Linked DNA regions of Homo sapiens: regions 1, 3, 4 and 5 are each linked to region 2. Evidence: promoter capture Hi-C in 16 types of primary human blood cells and fetal thymus (Javierre and others, 2016). All regions are on one chromosome and are shown on one strand. Each heading gives the region's core, a stretch centred on a gene start or on the middle of the fragment in contact. The rest is flanking DNA. Distances are from core to core; before and after follow the strand shown. Region 1 holds the start of CTDNEP1 (CTD nuclear envelope phosphatase 1). Region 2 has its middle 5.4 kb from the start of TNFSF12. Region 3 holds the start of SLC2A4 (solute carrier family 2 member 4). Region 4 holds the start of DLG4 (discs large MAGUK scaffold protein 4). Region 5 holds the start of CLEC10A (C-type lectin domain containing 10A).

Region 1 (3,341 bases), core at 842-3,341, 290 kb before region 2:
TGCAGTGGCTCAATCCCAGTACTTTTGTGAGGCCAAGGCGGGCAGATCACTTGAGGTCAGGAGTTTGAGACCATCCTGGCCAACATGGTGAAAACCCGTTTCTACTAAAATTACAAAAATTAGCCAGGTGTGGTGGCAGGTGCCTGTAATCCCAGCTATTCGAGAGGCTGAAGCAGGAGAATCGCTTGAACCCAGGAAGTGGAGGTTGCAGTGAGCGGAGATGGCACCACTGCACTCCAGCCTGGGCGACAAAGCGAGACTGTCTCAGAAAAGAAAAGAAAACCCCAGGAGATAGCCCCACACATATCCCAGCATCTCTGACCCTAAATTTTTCTTGGCTCCTAGCTCTTGTCTCGGGGGAATAGCGCTGCTGCCTACAGCCACAACCATCCTGTACTGTTCGCGCCCTAAATCAGGAAGTGGAAGCAGACTGGTAAAGGACAGAATGAACCCAAGGCCAGACCCATTCTCCCAAATCAGTTAAATCAACCACCACTACCACTGAGGGCTTTCTGGAAATTCTCTGGACCCCAGGTCACCCCAACCTGGGTTTATTCTTTCAAATTGTATTGAGGTATGCTAAGGGGTACAGACCACAGTACAGACCCAGAACCTGTGTCTCCGCTTACTAAATTCTCCCCAGACTCCTTCCGAGGATTCTCCCTGGTGGTGGTGAGACCACAAGAGCACATTCATTTAAAGTGCTGTTAGCTGAAGGACCTCTGACCTTGGAGAAAAGCTAAGGGAGAGGGGACCCAGAGATGCTTGGGTCCATCCGGACAGTTTCCCTCAGAATGCTAGGCTCTCCTGGAGAAGCAAACGTCCTCATTTTCAAGCCCTACAACTGCCCAGCGCTGTCCTCTGACAGGGACACCCAAACTTCAATGGTGGGCACAGCACCCACCTTGAACTCCCTCCCACAATTAAAGAGGCCCATCGTAAAAGCATCTGCTTTAGTCTTCAATAAATCCAGATACCTACACTCACACTATGAAATAAATTTTCACAGCCTTTTTGGAGGAATTCTCTTAATGGGAACCGCAGGCGTTTCTCCTTCACACCCAGGGCTTTCCCAAGTTCCCGTCCTTGTTTGTAACGTATGCCCTCCCACCCACCTCCACCCTTGACACACAAGTCTGTCTCTTCCTTGTTATAGGACCAAACACACACCGAGGTTCCAAATAGGGTCTTTCCCAAGCCCACATCCACAGATCCGGCTGTCATCAAACAGGTGTTCCCCGCCTCTTGGTTTCTTTAGCAACAACTCCAGCTTTCTTAAAGAGCGCCCCACCCACCACCTTAGCCCCCAAGAGTTGCCAAATCCTGTCCCATCTAGCCCCATCAAAACCCCCAAGGGCAAGGTTCTATTACAAGGGTCTCCCACCTCGCCCCGCTTAGGGTGCCCAATTCTCTGGCGAGAAAAGCCCCAGCCAGGATTCCCTTCCTAGGCCCAAACAGAGGCCCGACACTCCGAAAACCCCTGAGCACCACGGACAGATGTCCCCAACACCGCCAGACGTCCCCAACACCGCCAGCGCCCACCCTGGCTCACCGTGCGGATCTGCCTCCGCAGAAGGTAAATGAAGAAGCTCCAGAGCTTGGCGGCGAAGGCCACGAACGTGCGCAGCCCCAGCAGACACTGCGTCCGCATCATCCCGATGACCCCGGCACCGCCGGCCCCGGGGCCCCCGCGGCCCAGCTCCGCCAGCCCCCCGGGGGCAGCCCCCCGCCGCCGGGAGGGGGAACGGGGGCCCCGAGTGGCAGGAGAGGCTGCAGAGAGGGGCACGGAGCGGGCGGCTCAGAAAGCCACCCCTGGCGAGGGTAAAGCCCAGCGGAACGGGGAGCTGGGGGACAGGCGTGGGCAGCCCGCGGGGGCCCACATGGGCTGGGAGTGGCACCGACGGCTTCGGGGAGGTTGCGGGCCGAGACAGGTAGGGCTAGGATGGGGTCCTCCGAGACCTGGAGGGAAGGGGAAGGATAATTGGGGGAGGGGGCAGTGGGGGAGGGGGCTAGGGAAAAGGGAGGAAGGGAAAAGGGAAGGGGAGGGGGGGAAAGCAGAGAGTGGCCCGCTGCGCAGGCGCGCTAGGGGGCTGCTCGCAGGAACGGGGAGGGCGGGGGCAGCGGCGCGCAAAGGGCCGCGGCAGCGGAGAACGGGCCTGCAGAGCGAAGGAGCAGGGAAGGAGGGGGAGGGGGAGCCGGAGGGCGCAGAGCGCTGGGCCGGAGCGGCCTCCCCCTCCCCGAGCTCGGGGGTCCTTTAGCCGCTGGGGACCGGGGCTGCAGCCTCTGCAGCTGGGTTTCCCACTCTGACAGGCGCCATTTTACCGTCCAAAGGACTCCCTCTTCCTGTCTTTCCCCCTCCTCTTCCCCTTTGACACTACTTCCGGTGGTGACGTGTATTCGCTTCACCGGGACTAAGTTCCTCCTGCGCGGTCTATGGCGGGTAGGTATAAGGAAAGCCAAAAGCACTCCAAGCGAGGCTGCAGTATTGCGCACGCGCAGAAGGTGGCCGCGGGGCGGGGCCTGAGGCGAAGCAGGCCCCGCCTCAAACTGCGTGGGCGGGGAGAGTGACGTCACTTGGCCCGCGCTTAGGGCCCTCGCGGGGGGCTTGTGGGTCCTCCTCCCCCTCCCACTGACAACTGCCCCAACTGCTCTTCCCGCCCCGGTCACAGTGAAAATGTAGACGGGGTCGTTGTCCGTACGACTGTGCGCCAGGGCTCGGGGAGGGGCGCCCTCCGCGTGAGCGCCCCCCTGGGAATATTGAACATAATCACCTCTCATTCCAGACTATGTTAGGTCTTAATGGTGGGAGGACGCCCGAGTGCTCGGCCCGTTTCACCCCGAGGAGGAAGGACACTGGGTCATGACGCCATCAGAGGGCGCCAGAGCAGGGACCGGACGCGAGTTGGAGATGTTGGACTCGCTGTTGGCCTTGGGCGGCCTGGTGCTGCTTCGGGGTGAGAGCCAGAGGCACGGTGGCGGGGCGGGGGGTGCGGTTCGGGCCTGGCTGAGGGGACGGAAGTGGGCAGGAAGGGCCAGGGGTCACAGGCTAGGTGTGGAAATCGCGACGGGTTCGCGAAGGCGGTAATCCCAGCGCTCTCATACCCTTTATCCGTCCCTCGCTCTGCAGATTCCGTGGAGTGGGAGGGGCGCAGTCTCTTGAAGGCGCTTGTCAAGAAATCTGCACTGTGGTGAGTATCCCACAGTGTCTCCCCGGCCTACCCTGGATAGGGCACCTGTGCCCACTCTTTGACAATCCCTTCTCATCTCTGCCTTAGTGGGGAGCAAGTGCATATCCTGGGCTGTGAAGTGAGCGAGGAAGAGTTTCGTGAAGGTTTTGACTC
Region 2 (3,402 bases), core at 522-3,021:
CAAACAAACAAACAAAAAGAAATGGAGAGCTGAGGATAAAGGTAGGAAACTTGTGACCCAGGAAACTGGAATAGCCAGAGAAGGTACAAAGGCGGAGGAGCTGATGAAAGTCAGGCTCAGGCCGCTTGCGGTGGCTCATGCTTATAATCCCAGCACTTTGGGAGGCCGAGGCGGGGGGATCACTTGAGATCAGGAGTTCGAGACCAGCCTGACCAACATGGTGAAACCCCGTCTCTATTAAAAATACAAAATACAAAATTAGCCAGGCATGGTGGTGCATGCCTGTAATCCCAGCTACATGGGAGGCTGAGGCAGGAGAATCACTTGAACCCGGGAGGTGGAGTTTGCAGTGAATGGCGATCACAACACTGCACTCCAGCCTGAGCAACAAGAGTGAAACTCTGTCTCAAAAAAAAAAAAAAAAAAAAAACCAAAACCAAGAGCAAAACTTCGTCTCAAAAAAAAAAAAAAAAAAAAACAGGTCAGGCTCAGGATTGCCCACCCAGCCTTGCAACCCCACCAAGCCCTGCACTGTTATCAGGCTGGGTCCTCTCTTCCTTCGTCCAGAGGGGAATGGAACAGGTATGGAGACAGGATGTCATTTTGGAGACCCAGGTTTGAATTCTGGTGCTTCCATATCTTGGCTTTGGCATTTGAGCAAAATCATTCACTCTTCTATGCAACAAATATTTATTGAGCAACTACTATGGTAAGGCATTAGCCAGGTTCTAGGGAACAAAGATGAGTAAACCACGGTCCCCCCCTCATGACATGAGAGTAGGAGAGTCAGATGAGCCCAGATGGTAACATGATGAGATAGTGGTGTGGCTGGGGCAAAAACAGGCATCTGTGGAGCTCAGAGGGAGCCCCTATCCAGGGAGAGAAGGCCCAGGTAGAGTCTCCTGGGGAATTCCCTTGGACCACCCATTCATTCAACAAATACATAAAGTGCCTACTGTGTGTCAGGCACTAAGCAAGACACCAGAGAAACAATGGTCTACAAGACAGACTTGGCCCCTGAACCAGTAGAACTTCACGGTTGAGTGAGGGAGGAAGACCAGAAGTGCGAGTTGTGAGAAATGCAATGATGGAAACACAGCATTGTCATCGAGACTAACACAGGGGATACATATATGGGACAGGGGACGTGAGGCAGAATGTTGTGATGTTGGACCAAAATTAGAGTGTCCTTGTGAACTTATGCAATATGTATCTATCCTATCTTTGTCTGCTAAAAGTCCTCACTTCCAGGAATGCTGAGTTTACCCGGTGCCCAGATCTTAGTTGCTAAATATCCTTCTCCGTGAAAGGGCACCGTTCCCTGAAGAAATGGCTTCTGATCTCAGGGCTGGTGCTGAGGAAGTACAAGGTGCAGCTGGAACATCTTATTATGAAAGAAAGGAATGGAAGGATGGAAGGAACAGAGGGAGGCAGGGAAGGAGGGGAAGGAAGGATTATAGCATTTCTATATGAAGTCTATTTGTGATACCAAGCTTGGTAATATAATGAATGAACCAGCTTAAATATAGCACATTTATGTTCTTAAAATAACCAGTGAAGGAAACTAGAAGGCAGAATGGTAAGAGGCCAAGGAAGGAGGACTTCAGAATGAGAGTGGGAAACAATCGTAGAGGCTGCAAATAAGTAAGATGAGGGCCAAGGTGTATCTGCTGGATTTAGTACGAGAGAGACCTGTGGTGATGACCAACCACGTGGAGCCCATGTTCACTGGGGAAGTGGGGAGAAGAGGACAGGAGGGTCATCAGTGAAGAGAAGGTAGGTAAAGTCTGGGGAAGAGCCCAGGATGATGGCACACGCCTGTAAACCCAGCTACTTGGGAGGCTGAGACAGGAGGATCCCTTGATCCCAGGAATTTGAGACCAGCCTAGGCAACATAACAGGACCCTGTCTCACATAAATAAATAACTAAACAAACAAACAAACAGATAAATACAGACAGACATACATCTAGGGAAGACGGAGGTGGCAGGTAGAAGTGGAAAGAGAAAGAAGCCCAGGACAGGGATTTGAGTTGTTTGATTGACTGATTAAAGCTTAAATAAAGCTTAAGAATTTTGACCAAAAGTGAGTGTGGTGGTGGCTTGGGGGTGGCATTTAGTCCTCTCTTGGGTCTGTTAGCAACTCATCCTGGTTTTTCCAGAACTGTCCTGGTTTTAGCATTGAAAGTACCTCATCCTGGGAACCTCCTTAGTCCCGGCAAACTGGGATGGTCACTGTCCACTCTCAGGCTGCTACTATCACCATATTCAGTAGTCACTGCCAGACTGGGAAGGCTAGGCCATATTTATTCATTCAACAAACTTTTGCTGACCCTGGAAATACAATGCCTGCAAAGCATACACAGTCCCTACCCTTACAGACTACGTGAAATTCTTTATTTGCATTTAAGTGATTTTTTTTTGAGACGGAGTTTCACTCTTGTCACCCAGGCTAAAGTGCAATTGCACGATCTCAGATCACTGCGACCTCTGCCTCCTGGGATCAGGCGATTCTCCTGCCTCAGCCTCCCAAGTAGCTGGGATCTCGGCTCACTGCAACCTCCGCCTCTTGGGTTCAAGCTATTCTCCTGCCTCAGTCTCCTGAGTAAGGGGGATTACAGACATGCGTCACCACACCCGGATAATTTTTGTATTTTTAGTAGAGACGGGGTTTCACCATGTTGGCCAGGCTGGTCTCAAACTCCTGACCTCAAGTGATCTGCACGCTTCAGCCTCCCAAAATGCTGGGATTACAGGCGTGACCACCAGGCATGGCCTTGCATTTAAGTGATACTAATCAAGCTGGATATCCAAAAAGAAAAACAAAAAAGAAAATGACAAAGCCTTTTTTTCCTTTAGTATCTTGGTTGAAAATGTGAAAAGTAAGAAAAGTGTAAAAAGGCAGGAATAAAAAATATTAGCAGATTTCCTTTCAGTATTTTTCCTGCATGTTTCCCAAGTTACTTCCTATCAGTGTCCTAAAAAATGCAAGTTAATTTTAACTTTGGCCGCAAACCAAGAACAAAAAGGTTAAGTGTATTGAATTAATTTTTCAAGCCAAAGTTAAAGGATCTGAGGATGATCTGCTGTCTCCAAGGCTCCAGTCCCTGTTTTTTTCCTTTAGCAGGTGTGATCACACGCTGGCTGAGATGAGTAATGACTTTCCCTCTCCTCAGCACGCTTGCTGCTGTACAATTTTTTTCTTTTTACAAATTAAAATGCTGCATTCACCTGATAATAAAAATCAAGTAGAGGCTGGGTGCAGTGGCTCACGCCTGTAATCCCAGCACTTTGGGAAGCTGAGGCGGGTGAATCACCTGAGGTTGGGAGTTCGACACCAGCCTGACCAACATGGTGAAACCCCGTCTCTTCCAAAAATACAAAAATTAGCCTGGCATGGTGG
Region 3 (3,405 bases), core at 1-2,500, 260 kb before region 2:
AGGAGGAATCGAGCCTGACTTCTACCATAGGGGTGACTGGGCGGGTAATTCATTGAAATAAGGAAGTTAGGAGGAGGAGCAGGTTTGGACATGCTGATCACTAGAGCTGCCACATCCGGGCGGTAACGAACACCTGGATCTGCAGCTCCAGAGAAGGGCCTGGGTCAGATGTCACTGAAGCCCTATGGTGGCGGAAAGGCGAGAAATAGTGGGTTGAGATTCCAAGTGCAATCCACTGCGGCTCCTCGCTCGCCCTCCAGGTGGCAGCACAACCCTGCGCTTCCGAAGCCCGTTTTCTGAGCCAGACACTCTCCACGCTCTGGGTATTTCGGCTTCTCTCTCCCCACACGCCGACCCTAGGTCGCGCACTTTCTGCCTGGCAGAATTTGGCCGAGGATCCAAACCCGGAGCAGCCTCCAGAGAGCGTGTCGTTCACGCGGCCAGCATATGCTCAGAGACCTCAGAGGCTCAGAGACCTCAGGGCTGGTGGTGTGGTCGGTTGTGACCACTTGTCCCTCGGACCGGCTCCAGGAACCAACCTGGGGAATGTGTGTAGGGGAAGGGCGGGATAGACAGTGCCCGGAGCAGGGAGGCGCTGAAAGACAGGACCAAGCAGCCCGGCCACCAGACCCGTTGTGGGAACGGAATTTCCTGGCCCCCAGGGCCACACTCGCGTGGGAAGCATGTCGCGGACTCTTTAAGGCGTCATCTCCCTGTCTCTCCGCCCCCGCCTGGGACAGGCCGGGACGCCCGGGACCTGACATTTGGAGGCTCCCAACGTGGGAGCTAAAAATAGCAGCCCCGGGTTACTTTGGGGCATTGCTCCTCTCCCAACCCGCGCGCCGGCTCGCGAGCCGTCTCAGGCCGCTGGAGTTTCCCCGGGGCAAGTACACCTGGCCCGTCCTCTCCTCTCAGACCCCACTGTCCAGACCCGCAGAGTTTAAGATGCTTCTGCAGCCCGGGATCCTAGCTGGTGGGCGGAGTCCTAACACGTGGGTGGGCGGGGCCTTTTGTTCCAGGGACTCTTTTCTCAAAACTTCCCAGTCGGAGGCTGGCGGGAACCCGAGAGGCGTGTCTCGCCAGCCACGCGGAGGGGCGTGGCCTCATTGGCCCGCCCCACCAACTCCAGCCAAACTCTAAACCCCAGGCGGAGGGGGCGTGGCCTTCTGGGGTGTGCGGGCTCCTGGCCAATGGGTGCTGTGAAGGGCGTGGCCCGCGGGGGCAGGAGCGAGGTGGCGGGGGCTTCTCGCGTCTTTTCCCCCAGCCCCGCTCCACCAGATCCGCGGGAGCCCCACTGCTCTCCGGGTCCTTGGCTTGTGGCTGTGGGTCCCATCGGGCCCGCCCTCGCACGTCACTCCGGGACCCCCGCGGCCTCCGCAGGTTCTGCGCTCCAGGCCGGAGTCAGAGACTCCAGGATCGGTTCTTTCATCTTCGCCGCCCCTGCGCGTCCAGCTCTTCTAAGACGAGATGCCGTCGGGCTTCCAACAGATAGGCTCCGAAGTAGGATTCATCATGAGGGGGCGGGGCGGGGGGGCACGGGTCCCGCTTTTCTTGGGCTGGGGTCGCGGTTGGGGTCAGCTGGGGGTGGTTCCTGCGCAGGCGCAGGGGGTGAAGGTAGGGGGCTGGCTATTTATACCCGGCCTGGACAACCCGTGACTGTGAGATTCCAATCCTACCAAAAGGCAGAGTGGGTCTGGAGGGCCTTTCGGGGCACAGGCAGCAAGTGGATTCTGCGAGCCAGGGTTCACCCCCTTGCCTAGTAGGCGGCGCGGCGCTCCGGAATCGGGGACACCCTGCCCTCGATCCGACTCGGGAAAGCAGATCCAGGCGGGTCTTGCCCTCCGGGAGCTGTCCGTCCGTCTTCGCTCACGGGCAGTGTTTCGAGGACCGGAGGCTCTCCGTGGGCCCCCACCCCCACTCCTGGCCGCCCTCCAGGACGCTGAACTTTCCCTTGGCCCCATGGTTGGTGGAGGGGCAGAGGGGACTGTCAGCCCCCCCTCCTCCAGCTCAGGTTTCCGCTTGGAGACAGTCTGTGCCGCCAGCGAGCGGCCACCACTGCCACCGCCCCTCACACTACCTTCCTGCCCTCCTCCCCTGGGCATGGCTCTCCCAGGCAGAACCCCTGGACGGCCCTCCCTGCACGGAGGTTAGAGGGGGAGGGCAGGCCACGACGTAGATAGAGAAGGCCACCCCTAGATGACCGGGATGTCCTTTCTGGAACAGCACTTCTTGGTCCTGTTGGGGGCCTCCTGGAGCTGGCTGACAGAACCCCCAGAGGGGAGGGAAGAGGACAGTGGCTGATGATAATAATGCACGTGTTAATTTATGAAACCAGCACTGTCAAGGATATTGTTAACATGTGATGTTGATTTTCACAACACTCTCACAGATAGGTAGGCAAGGCAGGCAACATCACCCCCATCTCACAGAGGACACTCAGGTTCGGGGCAGGGAAGTGACTTGGCCAAGGTCACACAAATCTGAGCTCTTAAGGCCAAGCCTGTCTCAAGGTCACAGAAGAATTTTGAGACAAGTTCTCAAACATTTCTCTGCCTTATGGACCCAAACATCCAGTTTCTCCTTTATGCCCAGGTTGCAGTTCAGCTCCTGTTTACATTGAGATCTTTGTGCAATTCCTAATATGGCCCAGTTTCCCTCACCCAACATGTTGGGTGGAGCCCAGTATCTTCAGGCTCCAGCTGGGCCCGGGCCCCTAGCGGAAGGAAAAAAATCATGGTTCCATGTGACATGCTGTGTCTTTGTGTCTGCCTGTTCAGGATGGGGAACCCCCTCAGCAGCGAGTGACTGGGACCCTGGTCCTTGCTGTGTTCTCTGCGGTGCTTGGCTCCCTGCAGTTTGGGTACAACATTGGGGTCATCAATGCCCCTCAGAAGGTGAGGGCCTGCAGCTGGCAGGGTGGGGGTACCCAAACGAGGAGGACAGGTGTCTCGGGGGTGGTGGAAAGGGGACGGTCTGCAGGAAATCTGTCCTCTGCTGTCCCCCAGGTGATTGAACAGAGCTACAATGAGACGTGGCTGGGGAGGCAGGGGCCTGAGGGACCCAGCTCCATCCCTCCAGGCACCCTCACCACCCTCTGGGCCCTCTCCGTGGCCATCTTTTCCGTGGGCGGCATGATTTCCTCCTTCCTCATTGGTATCATCTCTCAGTGGCTTGGAAGGTTCGCAGCTGGAGGGCAGGGGTGGGGGAAACAGGAAGGGAGCCACTGCTGGGTGCCCTCACCCTCACAGCCTCACTCTGTCTGCCTGCCAGGAAAAGGGCCATGCTGGTCAACAATGTCCTGGCGGTGCTGGGGGGCAGCCTCATGGGCCTGGCCAATGCTGCTGCCTCCTATGAAATGCTCATCCTTGGACGATTCCTCATTGGCGCCTACTCAGGTACTCACGG
Region 4 (3,076 bases), core at 352-2,851, 330 kb before region 2:
CGAGATCTCCTGCCTTTGCCAGGCTCCAACCAGAGGGACACTCTTGCACAGATCCCCATCGCTGCCAGCCCTGCCCTCCTCCTACACCTTTTCACCCCAGTAACCTCAGTAACTTCGGTCATAAGCCCTCAGGGACCCTTAAATCCAGGTGTCCTCCCCCACCTTGATCCCAAGCGTCAGGGGTATCTGGAACAGTCCCCACATCTGCTCTTCTCCCTCTCTCTTGATCAGGGCTAGATACAGTGTGGGAGGAGATGGGGATATTGGGCACCTGCCTTTGGGCCACCCCCAAATTGTGCACCACCCACCCGGTCCCCCTCCTCAAATCCCCTCTCTCCCTAAGCCTCTCATCCTCCTCCTCAGGGGCTGGCAAGCTCGGCTGCTGCAATCTTCTGCCTCCTATGGGAGTACCCCCAAATCCTTGCCTCACCTGGTCCATTCCCTCAGGTGATCCCATGCCAGGGCCCCAGCCCTCTGACAACTTCCAACTACCTCCATTCTATATGACTGAACCCTAAATTAACAGTTCCCTCAAATTGAGAGAGCATCCCTAAATGCAGCCACCACGAGATGCTTGTTCTAGAGTCTGAAGGCCCACCCCTTCCCTGCCAGCTGACACCCCCAGATCAGTCAGGCACTCACAACCAATAACCTTTACCCCATGCCAGGAGCCCCCCAAAACTGGACAAGGCCCTTGGAAGCCAGCTTTTCCCTGGGGAGGAAAGAGGAACCCCCCAACATAGCCCACCTTCCCACATACACCAGCAGGACTCCCTTATGAGCCAGGCTTCTCCTTAAATAAGTCTCCCTCAAACAGCGCTGATGAACCCCCAAACCCGCCAGGCCCCCCGAACCATGGAATATCCTAAATTTTCCATATCCCTACAGGTACAAAGGGATCACTCCAGGGGGCACCTGTGGCCAAATCCTGCATTTTCTCAGATGTGAACCCCAAAACTAAATTAAGACCCCCAAATACATCTTACTTCTGATGCTGCCACTCCAGGGGCGCCAGTCCCAGATAAGGCCTACTAACCCCTCCCCACAAACTCATACCCTCCCCCCAGTTTATAGCCCCCCCATCATGCTTACCTTGGTTGTCACTATACAGAGACAGTCCATGTTGGGGGGCCTGGCCGCGGCGGCGGGTAAGGGGCTCTGACTTCATCGGAGTTTCGTTCCTCCCCTCCGTGGGTTCTCACCCCTCCCCCCTCCGCACCCCACTTTTGCAGGGGGGGCCAGGATGGGGGGAGGGGTGAGAGGGGAAGGAGGGGGTTGGAGAAGGGAAGGGGAGGGGAGCGTGGGAGGGAGGGGAAGGGGGCCCTAAAAGGGGCTCCCCAGTGGAGGGGAGGGGGCTTGGGGAGCACACCCCGATTCTCAGGAGGGGCGGGGGCACCGGGGGCTGGCAGCCCCGGAGTTCGGGGGCTGGGGCATGAGCTGGGGTGGGGGAGGGGAACTGGATTTCGGGGAGCCCCGGGGTAGGGGGGGGTCTTGCCAAACGGCCAGGGGCTAGGGGCCGTGGCGGGGGAGTGGGGTGGGGGGGTTGGAAACGGCAGCGGCCGAGGGAGCCGTGGAGCCGAAGAGGGAAGGGGAGAGAGGAGGAGAGAGGAAGCAGGGGGAGGGAGGGAGGGAGCTAGGAGCCAGAATGGGGGGGGTGCCTTGGCAGAGTTAACTCCTTCTGTGCTGGCAGGAACCCGGATAATGGGAAAGGAGATAGAAGCAGAAGCACAGAGGCCCCTGAGGCAAACATGGAGACCTGGCCAGCCACCAGCGATGACAGCAAAGACGATGAGGCTGGATTTCATTTCTTAGAGAAGGAAGCATCTATAGTTGGGCTGGGAGCACCCACGGTTATTTGAATACGGGAGGGAGGCCTCTCGGCAGGCGGTAGGGGGTCGGGTGTGAGGGAGGAGCTGAAGGAGGCAATCCCTGGGGGCCTAGTTCTCCCTCAGGTTTCTCAGGGGGAAACCTAAAAAGTTAAGCCCTAGACTCTTTAGTGCCTGAAACTGGGGCAGCCAAAGAAAACGAGGAAGAAAGGGAGAGTGGGTACAGGACCACAGAGAGTGCATTCTCGGTGCCCCAAGTCCCTGGGCCACTGACTCAGGCTTTTGTCAGCAGGGCCCCCAAGATTCCAGGTAATATTAGTGATATTTGGCTCACCCCTCCAGCCCTGCCTGCCCCTCAGGAAGTTAGGCGCTCGCCCCCACCTCCTTACCTGACTCTCTGAGAGGGAAGCCTCATAATAGTCCAGGATGTCTGTCACAGGAACAGAACTGAGTTACCTCCCCACCCCAGGCCTCTCCAGGCACATCACCCCTGTCATCACCGCTGCTGGCTGGCTGGCAAGGGAGGAGCCCTTTCAGCCAAGGCTGGTCCACACTCATGGAGGACACCATAGGCAGGACCCTGCATGGTGCTCCAGCTTGGACCAAATGATCTCTGGGCTCCCAAACAGCCCCCGAAGTTCAGTAATGGCCCTTGGAGGCCCAGGTCCCTCAGAAAACGGGCTACTCACCCAGCAAGGCCTGGAAGAGGTCGCTATGCAGCACTGTGAGGAGTGGGGGTGCCCACCGCAGCAGTGGGGGTGCCAGGAGCCAGAGGGCTGACCTGGGAGCTAGTGAGATGCAAGGAGAATTGGGACAGGGAAGATGCCAACACAGGAAGATGAACACACTGTCACTTCATCTCCCCAGACTGTGCCCTTCACCCCAGCCCCTACGGAAAGATTTGGGGAGAAGGATCTCCGAGCCCCAGCCCCCCACTTCGCTCCCAGACCTCCCCTCCACAAGGAGCCCTGTTTTTCACCTCTTGGTCTCTGGGACATCTCTCTCTTCTCTCACTTTAATCTCCCTAATCCTCCAGGATTGGAGTTGAGCTGCTTCTCCCCACTAAATTCCAGCTGTGAGTAAAGTAGGCCGTCTCTGAGCCGACCAGCTGTCCCATTCCCCCAGGTCCCAAGGCACCAGCACCGCCACCATCTTGCTCCACACACCCTGGCCCCCTCTTCCCATAGGCAGGCAGAACCTAGCCACGCTCTCCTGAGAAGCCAGCAAAGAGGGCCTCCTCACAGAGGGCT
Region 5 (2,934 bases), core at 288-2,787, 460 kb before region 2:
GCATTTTAGGAGAGTTTCCCCTTTCCTCTTACCATTTTTAAACCCCTGGACTTTCACCTTATTCTCCAAGTACTGGAAGTTTTCATACGTCCTTGTCATGCTTGGGCCAACACGGCTCTGAGGTTGTCACAGCTGAAATGGAGGCAGGGCCGGCGCCCAGTCTGGGGTGGAGCTGGGGAATAGGAGGTTGGGACTAAGTTGGAGCCAAGGGCAGGGCTGACGTTGAGTTGGGAGATGAGGCTCAGGTTGAGAATGAGCCCAGGGTTAAGACGGAAATGAGCCTGGGTTTGCAGTCGAGTTAGAATTGGGGTCGAGTTGAGTTTGGGAGTGAAACTGGAGGGTAACGTTGGAGCTAAACGCATTGCTAGGACTACCCAGTGGGCCAGTTAATCAGGCAGGACTGGAGGTTGTATCTCATGCTAGGATTGGGGTCAGTATGCACGTTGGAGCCATGGATGGAATTGGGGTTAACTTTGGTGGTGAATTTGGAAACAGAATAGAGTCGAGGTTCAATTTTGGCTTTGGGCTGGTGTTAAAATTCAAGTTGATTCTGGGGTTGGGGTTGAAGTAGGAGCTGGGTGGGGGGCGACAGGTGCGGTGGCTCACGCCTATAAATCCCAGCACTTTGGGAGACCGAAGCAGACAGATCACTTTAGGTCAGGAGTTTGAGACCGGCCTGGCCAACATGGTGAAACCCCATCTCTACTAAAAATACAAAAATTAGCTGGGTGTGGTGGTGTGCGCCTGTAATCCCAGCTACTTGGGAGGCTGAGGCAGGAGAATCACTTGAACCCAGGAGGCAGAGGTGGCAGTGAGCCGAGGTTGTGCCGTTGCACTCCAGCCTGGACGACACAGTGAGACTCAGTCTCAAAAAAAAAGAAAATGTAGAAGCTGGGGTTAGTATTGGGATTAGGGCATGGCTGGGCTGAGATGAAGATAAGGCTGGAAATGGGCCACCAATGAGGCTGAGTCTGAGTCTTAGTTTATTTTTATTTTTATTTATTTATTTTTTGAGATGGAATTTCGTTCTTGTCGCCCAGGCTGTTGTGCAACGAGGCCGTCTCGGCTCACTGCAACCTCTGCCTCCTGGGTTCACAAGATTCTCCTGCCTCAGCTCCCGGAGTCTTAGTTTATGACAGGGGATTGTGGCTGCCGTAACCCAATCTAGAATCCAGTGAAGGGAACAGAGTCTCAAATCTCCACGTAGTAATTAAACCCCACACTGCCGCCTTATATTTATTTTCATTTAGTCCCACCCAAGACCCAAAGTCCCCCTCTCCCTGCTTCCTCTGACATCCCCTGTCCCCTGGGTCTCACCGGCACCGGCAGCACCATTACCTGTGGGAGGTCTGGAGGGTGTGATTCCCACGTTGGTTGTGCTGCAAGGACCAGAGGTGGGACGTCACTCAGAGTTGGGAGCGCTGTGTCCTGGAGAGCTGGGGTAGAGGTGACTGGAGTCCTGCTGGTCTTGGGTCTGAAATCCCAGGAGCCCTATCATCTGGGACATCCCATCTCCTCAACTTTAGACAGTAAATGAGAATGAACAGGGATTAGAACACACAGAGACCATGTGTGGGTGGGGAGAGTTGGGTTTGAGGCCAGCTCTGTTCTCCTCCTCCAGGCCATGCCTACTTCCTTTCCTCTTCTCGGAGCTTCCTCATTTTTACCATCTGGGAGCAGGGCTGGATCAGAGGTACAATCTGCTGTTGCTCCTCTACCCTACACTTCCTTTCACTTCCTGCCTCTACATTTCCCAGAATTGTTGGGTCTCCATCATCGCACCTCTGATCCTAGAGAAGCCCAGTCTGTTCTCTTGCTCAATCCTGGCCTGAGTCCCTGGCATCAGCATCCTCTGGGTCCCAGTCATTCGGCTGCTCAGCTGTGGCCTCGCTCGCCTCACTCCACTCGGAAGGAGGGAAGGGGGTGCCAGAGAATAGAACTTCTTGGCCCTAATAGGACGGGAGAAGCCAAGGAAAAGAGCAAATTTTATTGAGTAATCTGTGATAGGATTATGCCAGACATTTACCTTCCACAACCATTCCCCCCAAGCACCTGGGGAGGCATTTTGGATGACGGACTAAAGGCTCAGAGCCCAAGATCACTCACAGCTTGTAAGGAGACAGTTTGGCACCCTGCTCTGGCTCTCAGCACAGGCGCTGTCTTCATGAACAGGATTCCATTTCATCCCATGATCCCTGCTCAACCCCTAAGGGAGCTGCCCTGAATCCACGCGCACATCCCTTTCAGTAGGAAGGAAACTGAGTATCTTACAAGGTGGAGAAGGAGAAGAAATACATTTTAGGTTATATTTTGTATGTACATGGGGTTGTGTTCTGCTATGTGCTTTTTTTTTTTTTTTTTGGAGTTAACAAGCTATCAGGAACATTTCTCCACATCAGTTTATAAAATGTACTTGATCTACCTGCACCTCATTTCATCATAGGCACCGTAATTTATTTATTTAGCATTTCTCTATTGACAGAAATAAATCAGAAATTTAAGTTGTTTCTTTTTCTTTTCTTTTTTATTTTATTTATTTATTTATTTTTTTGAGACAGAGTCTCACTCTGTTGCCCAGGCTGGAGTGCAGTGACACAATCTCGGCTACTGCATCTCCTGGGTTTAAGCGATTCTCCTGCCTCAGCCTCCCGAGTAGCCGAGATTACAGGTCCCGCCACCACACCCAGCTAATTCTTGTATTTTTAGTAGAGAGGGGTTTCACCATATTGGCCAGGCTGGTCTTGACCTCCTGACCTCACATGATCTGCCCGCCTCAGCCTCCCAAAGTGCAGGGATTACAGGCGCGAGCCACCGCACCCGGCCAGGTCGTTGCCAGTTTTGTTTTTATTTGGTATTCGGTATTTTGATTAGTATATGTCGCAGGTTCGGTTTTTGGAAGCCAAGGTTGAGGCTGAATTTGGGGTACAAGCTATT

Evidence for each region. The method cuts DNA at HindIII sites, captures the fragments that hold promoters and counts their contacts. A CHiCAGO score of 5 or more calls a contact.
Region 1: a contact is called between the fragment with the promoter of CTDNEP1 here and a fragment that was not itself captured in region 2, in 7 of 17 cell types (total B cells, non-activated CD4 T cells, erythroblasts and 4 more). The highest score is 6.7, in total B cells.
Region 3: the fragment with the promoter of SLC2A4 here is called in contact with a fragment that was not itself captured in region 2 in 2 of 17 cell types (total CD8 T cells and naive CD8 T cells); the score reaches 7.4 in total CD8 T cells.
Region 4: a contact is called between the fragment with the promoter of DLG4 here and a fragment that was not itself captured in region 2, in 2 of 17 cell types (monocytes and naive B cells). The highest score is 5.3, in monocytes.
Region 5: a contact is called between the fragment with the promoter of CLEC10A here and a fragment that was not itself captured in region 2, in 1 of 17 cell types (monocytes). The highest score is 6.2, in monocytes.

What each region holds. Positions count from the first base shown.
Region 1 is chr17:7,249,643-7,252,983 of GRCh38, forward strand. CTDNEP1 (CTD nuclear envelope phosphatase 1) reads right to left here and starts at 2,092. Exons shown (of 8, transcript NM_001143775.2): 1 at 1,553-2,092. The coding sequence starts at 1,654. It overlaps ELP5 (elongator acetyltransferase complex subunit 5), which reads left to right and starts at 2,573. Exons shown (of 8, transcript NM_203414.3): 1 at 2,573-2,954; 2 at 3,128-3,188; 3 at 3,276-3,341. The coding sequence starts at 2,909. RefSeq lists enhancers at 1,695-2,282, 2,283-2,871, 2,740-2,959 and silencers at 1,820-1,939, 2,010-2,219, 2,990-3,229. The HindIII fragment of the contact is 9,547 bases long and covers 1-3,341 here.
Region 2 is chr17:7,541,963-7,545,364 of GRCh38, forward strand. No RefSeq gene overlaps it. Among named protein-coding and RNA genes, the nearest start is that of TNFSF12, 5.4 kb to the right of the region's middle. The HindIII fragment of the contact is 561 bases long and covers 1,492-2,052 here.
Region 3 is chr17:7,280,468-7,283,872 of GRCh38, forward strand. It overlaps SLC2A4 (solute carrier family 2 member 4), which reads left to right and starts at 1,251. Exons shown (of 11, transcript NM_001042.3): 1 at 1,251-1,500; 2 at 2,778-2,894; 3 at 3,006-3,178; 4 at 3,271-3,395. The coding sequence starts at 1,468. RefSeq lists a silencer at 1,215-1,364 and an enhancer at 1,497-2,484. The HindIII fragment of the contact is 20,977 bases long and covers 1-3,405 here.
Region 4 is chr17:7,216,026-7,219,101 of GRCh38, forward strand. It overlaps DLG4 (discs large MAGUK scaffold protein 4), which reads right to left and starts at 1,602. Exons shown (of 20, transcript NM_001321075.3): 1 at 1,093-1,602. The coding sequence starts at 1,122. It also overlaps a transcript of ACADVL not described here. The HindIII fragment of the contact is 10,481 bases long and covers 1-3,076 here.
Region 5 is chr17:7,078,714-7,081,647 of GRCh38, forward strand. It overlaps CLEC10A (C-type lectin domain containing 10A), which reads right to left and starts at 1,538. Exons shown (of 9, transcript NM_001330070.2): 1 at 1,339-1,538; 2 at 33-172. The coding sequence starts at 99. The HindIII fragment of the contact is 6,420 bases long and covers 1-2,934 here.